2 separate regions of the Homo sapiens genome follow, and region 2 is linked to region 1. Evidence: promoter capture Hi-C in 16 types of primary human blood cells and fetal thymus (Javierre and others, 2016). All regions are on one chromosome and are shown on one strand. The core of a region is centred on a gene start or on the middle of the fragment in contact, and the rest is flanking DNA. Distances in the headings are between cores, read along the strand shown. Region 1 holds the start of CSF2 (colony stimulating factor 2). Region 2 overlaps RAPGEF6 (Rap guanine nucleotide exchange factor 6).

The links. Contacts are between HindIII fragments. The CHiCAGO score rates a contact against its expected background, and 5 or more counts as called.
Region 2: a contact is called between a fragment that was not itself captured here and the fragment with the promoter of CSF2 in region 1, in 1 of 17 cell types (neutrophils). The highest score is 6.8, in neutrophils.

The regions. Positions count from the first base shown.
Region 1 is chr5:132,070,561-132,075,038 of GRCh38, reverse strand. It overlaps CSF2 (colony stimulating factor 2), which reads right to left and starts at 1,250. Exons shown (of 4, transcript NM_000758.4): 1 at 1,057-1,250; 2 at 917-958; 3 at 104-229. The coding sequence starts at 1,215. The HindIII fragment of the contact is 5,468 bases long and covers 1-1,877 here.
Region 2 is chr5:131,558,730-131,563,207 of GRCh38, reverse strand. It overlaps RAPGEF6 (Rap guanine nucleotide exchange factor 6), which reads left to right. Exons shown (of 28, transcript NM_016340.6): 5 at 1,161-1,230. Among named protein-coding and RNA genes, the nearest start is that of RAPGEF6, 74 kb to the left of the region's middle. The HindIII fragment of the contact is 3,906 bases long and covers 1-3,764 here.

The DNA.
Region 1 (4,478 bases), core at 1-2,500:
CCCCCTGGGGTCCTGAACAGCCACAGCCATAGATCTCTCCCCATGTCGACCCCACCCCCTAGATTAAGACATTCCTGCTGGAGGCCCTGCCGTAGGCACTCACCGGGGTTGGAGGGCAGTGCTGCTTGTAGTGGCTGGCCATCATGGTCAAGGGGCCCTTGAGCTTGGTGAGGCTGCCCCGCAGGCCCTGCTTGTACAGCTCCAGGCGGGTCTGTAGGCAGGTCGGCTCCTGTGGAAAATGTCGTTCGTCGGTGAGCAGTGGCCAAGTGCCCACAGTGGTACAAGAACTCTCCACCACTCCTTTTTGCTGCTGCCCCCAGCCCCCAGGAGTAGGGCTTGGGAGGGGCACAGGCTGGGTCCAGTCATAGACCCTGCCCTGTCCATGGCAGGCACGAACCTGCCCTTCTCACTGCCCCGCCCAGGCCACCCTCAGCGGCACCTGGAGAGGAGCCCAGCCTTAGGGAAGGAGGTGACTCTCACCCCATCATTCAGGGAGAGGGGGGTGGGGCCTCACCTGGACCTGCTGGGTGGGCAAGGGTTGTTCCTGAAACCCCTCTGTGCCTCTCTGTAGTCAGCACTGTCTCAACAGGACTTGGTCTCGGGGCACAGTGAGCGCCCCAAACCCACAGCTCCTGTCTCATGAAGTGACCCCCACTTTACCACCTGTCCCCTGGTGACTCCTGGCCATTGAATGCTAGGTCTGCCCATGGCCGCTCAGCTGATAAAGGAGCTCATGTGACTGCCATAGGGGCACGGCCAGCAGCCTCTTGAGCACCCAGTTGCTACCCCCTCCTCCTGCAGCCAGCTGACTGGAGAGAAAGTGGACAACCCTGTGTGGTGCCATCTAAAATGGAGTCCCCACCTCCACCCCAGGGCAGGGGCTTCTGGAAAGCTATGTCAGAGAGAAGCATCTTACCTGGAGGTCAAACATTTCTGAGATGACTTCTACTGTTTCATTCTGTAGAAAAGGAAAATGTCATGTTATCAAGCTGACAGGCGTGGCCAGTCAGGGGCCAGCTGGGTGGCCTAGGCACAGGCCCACATTCTCTCACTTACCATCTCAGCAGCAGTGTCTCTACTCAGGTTCAGGAGACGCCGGGCCTCCTGGATGGCATTCACATGCTCCCAGGGCTGCGTGCTGGGGCTGGGCGAGCGGGCGGGTGCAGAGATGCTGCAGGCCACAGTGCCCAAGAGCAGCAGGCTCTGCAGCCACATCCTCCAGAGAACTTTAGCCTTTCTCTCTGTGTACTGGGCTCACTGGCAAAAGAGCTCTTAAATACACAGAGGAAATGATTAATGGTGACCACAAAATGCCAGGGAGGCGGGGGAACTACCTGAACTGTGGAATCTCCTGGCCCTTATCAGCCACACATGGGAACGGTGAGCCTTTTCCCTAGGTGGTCAGGCTTGGGGGTTTTCATTAATGAACCTTTCCAAGAACCGACAGCCCACCCACCCGCCTTCCTGAGGGCTCTCCAGCCCTCCCTGGGCAGTCTGAATGGGCCTGAGGCTGCCCCCTCCCTCTGAGGGGCACAGTTTGGACTTCCTGGCCTGGAATGGCTGGGGTGGGGCGTGGGAGACACTTAGATAGGGCTCCCCATCCTGCCTGTAATCCCAGGGGCCTTTGGGCAGGCTATGCCCGCCCTGGTGCCTCATTCTGACTCCAGCCTTCCTCTTCTCTGGCCACTGTGAGAGACTTGAGTGTGAGGGGAGCTCTCACAGACCTGCCCCACTGACAGTTCACATGGGCTCCCACCCAGGACCTGGAGCAGGGGGCAACCTCAGTCCAGTAAGGGGGGACCCCTGCCCCTGTGAGCAGAGGGAATGACCACCATGTGCACATCCAGCAGCGAGACTGCAGCCACTCTCAGCAAGCTTCAGAGGGGGTGTGGCTGGGTCAAGTCGGGACCCAGAGTCTGACTCTTGGCTCTGGAGCCACCTTCCTGAGTGACTCCCCTCTCTGGTTATGTGAACCTTGATTCCCTCTGCAGAGCAGGTTTGCCCCTCTGAGGTTCGGACTACACTCCTATATGTAGCCCCCAGAAGACACCAGGAGCTTCAGGCTGGCTCCAGGGCTGTGGCTGCATCCATCTCAGGTACAGGGACAATGGCTTCCCCAGCAAGGCCCTCCAGGCTTAATTTCCTACATAACCCCAGCATCCCCCAACTCCAGAGGCCTTTCTGTGGAAGTGTGGAAGTAGGAAATCTAAAGGCTCTTGAGGGGCTGACAAGTGTTTGATTTTCACAATGGAGTTCAGAGAAGACAGCACGAGTTTGTGTTTGCACAAGGTATCTGGCTCAAGCTGCCCCATGCCTGGGTTTCATAGCTAAAGGGGTGTGGGCCCACACGTGCCCATTTCTGGGTGTATGTGTGCTGCTGTGATTGGTTGTACATACAGGTGCCTGGTAGAGGGGAGGATGTTTTCCATGCAGATGCATCTATTGAGTCCTCTTACCTGCTTTATGAAAGGCTCCAGGCCTCTGAAGGTGACTCTGATACTGGAGAAGCTCCCTACTCCAGGTGCAGTGCCTCTGGGCCCTAGAGGCTGATTCAGCCTAAACCAGTGGGGTTGGACACAAGCGAGAACATTCTGCTGGACTCAGGTTGGCGAGCCTTCAGAGAGCAGGTGGAGTTCATGGCTTTAGCACTGTGGTCTGAGTCTGCAGCCCTGGCCAGTTTCCCTGTACTGTGGGAGTTTTTCTGACCTTGCATAGAGAAACCAAACCTTAGTCCTCCAGACCCCACTGTGAGGCCAGCCCCATCCATCTGAGCCTGCGTAGAACACTCCTAGTGGCCAGGCTGGGGTGGGAACATGAAATGTCCAGGCCCTGGCCCTTTCTCCACCTTTTTTGCAAGGCCTTGGCTCAGCTCTTTCCAGGGAGCTCTCGGGGGAGAGATGAGGACATGGATACTACATGTAGATATCACATGTGTTGGATAGCACCCTGGAGGCTGGAGGGCAGGGAAGGGAGCCATAGATAGTGGTTCAGCTGATGGCCAGGGAGGCAGAGAGCCTGTATGACCCATCTGGGAGAGAAGGTCACTTTCCTCCTAGAAATGAGTTGTCATAGCTCAGACAGTCAGTCAACAAGTCTTTCCAATCCACACCAGGACCTGTTCTGGGGAGGTAAACGGGACCCTCCCACTGGCCCTCACATTTGGCCCTTGAGGCTCCCAGTCTGGTAGGAAACAGACTGCAATGGACCCTCCCATGGTGTGACCTTGACTCGGCAGGGGGAAGTCCAGAGCTGAGGGATCCCAGAGGGCCACCTTCTCTAGCTTGGGGATCCAAGGGGACCAGAGAGCTTCACTAGAGATCCTGCCTGCAAGCCCAGGCTGAAAGGCTAGAAGTCAGGTGGGTACGTTGGGTTGGAAGGAGAGGGGCAGGAGAGGACAGGGGAGAATGTTCTGGGCACAGGGAGCCCTGGGGTTTTAGGAATGGGTATAAGGAACAGCAGGCAGACTCCAGAGAGATTGAGGAGGTAGAATCTCAACAGGACTTGGTGCTATAGTGAAGTCACTCAGTCATTCATTATTTTTTGAGCATCTACTAGGTTCCCAGCAGGGAAAAGGGACATAAGGATGACAAAAACGGTCAGGGTCCTGCCTCCAAGGACTTTTTAACCCCATCCATGGAGGAGCAAGATTAGTCTACTCACCCCCCTCCCCCCCCACCAAAGTGTGCTTTGAATGTGAGTAAGAGGAGTTAGAATCACTGTCCACATGGCTAAGGTGAGGACCCAGGGGACAAAGGAGCAGATCTTCAGAGCGTGAGGCCCACGGGAAGTTTTGGAGTTTCAGAGTCTGCATGTACAGGAGACAGATCTGGCAGCGGTACATGTCTGTGTGGTAGCTGAGGCCACGGAAGTTATTCAGGAAGAAGAGCTGAGGGCCAGCAAAGCTGTGTTTAAGGGCTGGGACATAACAGATGGGCAAGTAACAGGCCAGTGGCCAAGGGCCTAGGAGGGAAGGAAAGGAGGAAAGCAAGAGTCATAATAAGAAATCCATTTCGGCAGTGGTGGCCTGCAGGTGCCCAAGTCAGCACAAACAGGACAGAAATCCATGGGTTTGGTGATGAGGTTTGTGGGCAGCCACACATCTTTCTCATGGAAAGATGACATCAGGGCTGAGGCCATGACACAGGCAGGCATTCCTAGATTGCACTGTATTTTAAACAGTGTCAACCGATAGCCAGCCATGCTGACTCAGGGGCTCCGATGGGGCTGTGGCAGGGCAGAGGCGGGGACCACGATGGGTGGTATGACCCCTCTGGGGCCCCCCTTCCTACAGAGACAGGAGAAAACCCTCTGGAAGGAGTTTCCTATGCGTGTCCACCCCACAGGCTCTGTAGGAAACAGGGGCTTGAGTCACTCCAGGATCCTTATCACGAGAGACATTATCACAAGGGGAAGGAAATGGGCCTCAAAGTCCCTTCGGTACCATGGCACCCCCGCACAGGCTTTGGGGCTGATCTGAT
Region 2 (4,478 bases), core at 562-3,061, 510 kb after region 1:
TTTATTTACTAACTGACACTGGCACTAAATTTTCATATATGATAATACTTTTGGTTGCTTTATCATTATTTTGAGTGAGCTCTGTATATTTCATATGTAAGTCATTTGTGTCTTAGTATAGTTGACAGGGCTTTTTTTTATTCTTCATTAAAAAAAATTCAGGTTATCTTTTAAAATGGAAACCTATCTTTTTCTCTGTGGTTGCTTTCTTTTTGATATGCTGAGAAATCTTTCTGAGACCAAGAATATAAAAATACTGTCTTTTAGTACTGGTCCAGCTTTAGTTTTTTCCAAAGAGCTGTGACTCCAACACTTTCTTTTAAGAAGTCATCTTTATATCTAACTACATTTCTTTATATATAGTTGGCACTTCATATCCGTGGGTTTCACATCCATTAATTCAAGCAACTGCTGATCCTGGAAAAAAAAATGGATGGTTGCATCTCTACTAAGCATATATAGACTTGTTTTACTTGTCATTATTCCCTAAGCAATAAAGCATAACAACTATTTATGTAGCATTTCCCGTGTATTAGGTATTATTAAAAATCTCAAGTTGATTTAAAGCATATGGAAGGATGCACATAGGTTATATGCAAATGCTACATCATTTTATGTTAGGCGCTTGAGCACTGGTAGATTTTTGTATCCTTGGGGATTCTGGAACCAATCCCAGTTGGATACCAAGAGACTACTCAAGTGTGAATATTTTTTAAGTTTTTTTATTTTTAGTATCTGTTGTCTTAACACTGCTCCCAAAAGATTATAATAATTTACTTTTATTAAATTGCCTAATCAGGTTATCACTTTTATTAGATTTTTACTAAGTGTATTTTTTTCTTTGTGCAACGTATATTGACAGATGTTAGAAATTTGAGATTAGACAGTTATCTTTTATAATTAATTTTAGGGACTAGTTAAAGGCAGAAGTTTAAAAAGAATTTTCATATAGTATTGAGATCAGTTATATCTGGACAATTAAGAGAAAGGTTTTTTTTTTTCTTTCTTTTTTAGAAAATCTTAACATAAATATTGTGACAGGATCAGAATTTCTTGGATAATATCTCAGGGCTTTTTTGTTGTTTGTTTGTTTTCTTTTCCTATATTGATATATTTTATTAATAACCTTTGCTAAAGAAATTGTTTTTCTGTTTTTATAGTTTTGGTAAGCAGTTTGGAGGAAAAAGAGGATGTGATTGTCTTGTATTAGAGCCTTCAGAAATGATTGTGGTAAGAACTTTAAAGAATGCTGAATTGTTTTTGATATGCTTCAGTTTTAACTTTAAATGTAGTAGGCTTTAAACACTTAAGGAGGTTTTATTACTATGACCTTTTAGAGATTTCATCAAGTAGCATCAGAACTATCTACCAGGTTTATCTATTTCTGTCTCTTCAGACTTTTTTTGATCCTCAAGAGAGTGTGAAACATGATACACTTACATATAATTTGCAGATTTGGTATTTTTTACCCCCTTCTACCAGAAAATTAGAAGTTTTAAAAGGGGACCATGAGTTTTCAAGTGATTTTTTTTTTTTTTTTTTTTTTTGAGACAGAGTTTCATTCTTGGTGCCCAGGCTGGAGTGCAATGGTGCAGTCTTGGCTCACTGCAACCTCCGCCTCCTAGGTTTAAGCAGTTTTCCTGCCCTAGCCTCCTGAGTAGCTGGGATTACAGGCACCTGGCACCATTCCCAGCTAGTTTTTCTATTTTTTAGCAGCCATGGGGGTTTCACCATGTTGGCCAGGCTGGTCTCGAACTCCTGACCTCAGGTGATCCATCTGCCTTGGCCTCCCAAAGTGCTGAGATTACAGGCGTGGGTCACTGCGCCCAGCCTCAGGTGATTTCTTCTTTCCCATTCAATTTTACTTTTTCAATAAACTTTGAATTCTATAGTCTGTGCCCTAGACTAGAGAGAATGAAGTAGAGAAAAGTAAAAAGACATACAATTAGATCCAAGTAAGAAATGGTGTTAGTATTTTCACTTTTTAATTATTTAAGATAAGTTTTTATTTAAGAGTGTATTTAAGGAATAATTCTTTATTTTTTCTTAAAAGAGCTAAGTAGTTGATGTAACTTTAGAATTTTTTTTTTTAAGTATTAGAAGAATCAAGAACACAGCTTGCTTTTTACGTTGTTCTAAGATGACCTGACTAGAAAACAGCATATACCGAGTGGACTCATTGTCCTACTAGGATCTCATGTAGATGACCATGTCATCTGATTAGATTTGAACTGTCAAGAAGAGAAATTGAATTCTTAATGAAGCATTTTAATGTAAGGGCTCAAAACCAAACTACTTTTCCATTTCATGGTGCTATAGTCAGATTGATACCTTCAAATAGTTTGTTTTCTCTTTCTTAAACTGGATCATCTGTATAACCATGAACTCACTATCCCTAATTTTATGTGAGCAACTGGATTTTAAGCTCTTACAGGGCAAAGATTATGTCTTATTCCACTTGTGTCTCCGAGAGTATCGCAGAGTACTGCCTGCATAGTAAGTATTCAGTGAATGTTTCTTGAATTCAAGTTTTTTCAAGGATGGAGTATGTATTGTTTCAAATTTATTTTCTTTAAGCACTGAATATATGGGATTCCTATTAGAGCCTCAGAATTCTTTCTTTTTAATGTATGTATTGAGGAACATGGCAAGAAAACTGCCCAGGCAGTATTGATTTTCTGACTTTTTAGTTGTATTTTGTATTTCTCATACTATATGCAAAAGAAATACTGCTTTTACTTCAGTGTTATACATTCTGTTTTAGTGCTTGTTTTACATACTTTATGTAATATTTTCATATGAGGAGGAAGAAAAGGAGAAATCATAGGCATAGCTATAAATGACATTGTTGGTGCAATTGATGAATTCAAAATATGCACTACAGATTGGATAATATCAAATTCCCTGAGTTTGATAACCATACTGTGGTTCTGTAAGACAAAGTCCTTATTGTTAGCAGTTACATGTTGACATATTTTGGGGTCAAGAAGCATTATATCTCCAATTTATTCTTCAGTATTTCAGAAAAACAAGTATATAAAATAAAAAGTCACATCAAGTATATGTATTTATGGCTGGTAATTTTTAAATTTCAAAAATTTAAATTTATTGATGATTGGTATAATTTTAAATGCTTTATGAGTTATAGGAGAAAACAATCCAAAATAGGTGAAATTTTTCAGAATTGTTAAAAATGCCTGGTCAAATGGTTTTGTCTATTTGTACAGATTTGATTAACTCCACTGGTGATTGGAAGTGTCTGTTACTGAACACATTCTTGATCACCTGATAAGTTAGTCATCTTAATCTGACACATTGTAAAGTAATCTCCTTGTTTTAACTTTTTTTTTTCTTTTTTTTTTTTCTTTTTTTCTTAAAGAAAAGGGGCTTACCGAGAGTAGAGTGTGCGGTGGTGCGATAGCTCAGCGCAGCCTTGGACTCCTGGGCTCAAGTGAGCCTCTCTCCTCAGTCTCTCAAGTAGCTGGGACTACAGATGCACCCCACCATACCCAGCTAATTTGTTGTTGTTGTTGTTGTTGTTATTGTTTTTGTAGAGACAGCCTTGCTATGTTTCACAGGCTGATCTCGAACTCTTGACCTCAAACAATCCTCCCACCTCAACCTCCCAAGTGTTGGACTTACAGGTGTGAGCCACCATGCCTGGCCCAAAGTATACTTTTAGGCAAGAAGCATTATTTAATGTAAGAATGGTACTGTATAGTGATAAAAGGTTAATTGTATCAAGGTTACACAATCCTGAAGCTTTACATGCCTTCAAAATACATAAAACAAAAATTGTCCTTAGTAAAATCAGAACTAGACAAACCCACAATCACAGTGGGAGATTTTTATTTTTATTTTTATTTTTATTTTCATTTTGTGATGGAGTTTTGCTCTCTCGTCTAGGCTGGGGTGCAGTGGCATAATCTCAGCTCACTGCAACCTCTGTCTCCCAGACTTAAGTGATTCTCCTGCCTCAGCCTCCCAGGTAGCTGGGATTACAGGTGTGCGCCACCACGTGCAGCTAATTTTTGTATTTTTAGTAGAGACAGTGTTTTGCCATGTTGGCCAGGCTGGTTTTGAACTCCTGACCTGAGGTGATCCTCTTGCCTCGGCCTCCCAAAGCGCTGGGATTAACAGGTGTGAGCCGCTTTGCCTGGCCAGGAGATTTTAATATACCTCTAAAGTAACTGACAAAACAACCACCATGAGTCAGTAAGGATATTGAGGATTTGAACCTCATCATGTACACATTTTACCTAAGAGACATAACAGGGAACACTACACTTATCAACAACAGAGTACGCCTACTTTTCAAGTGCACATGGAATGTTTTTTAAATTTGACCACATGCTGGGACATAAAGCAAGTCTCAAAATTTCAGTATTTAAAATTTTATAGTTTCTGACCACCATGAAATTAATTTAAAAACCAATTATAAAAACACAGCTAGAAAAAAAAATACAACTTCTGAAATT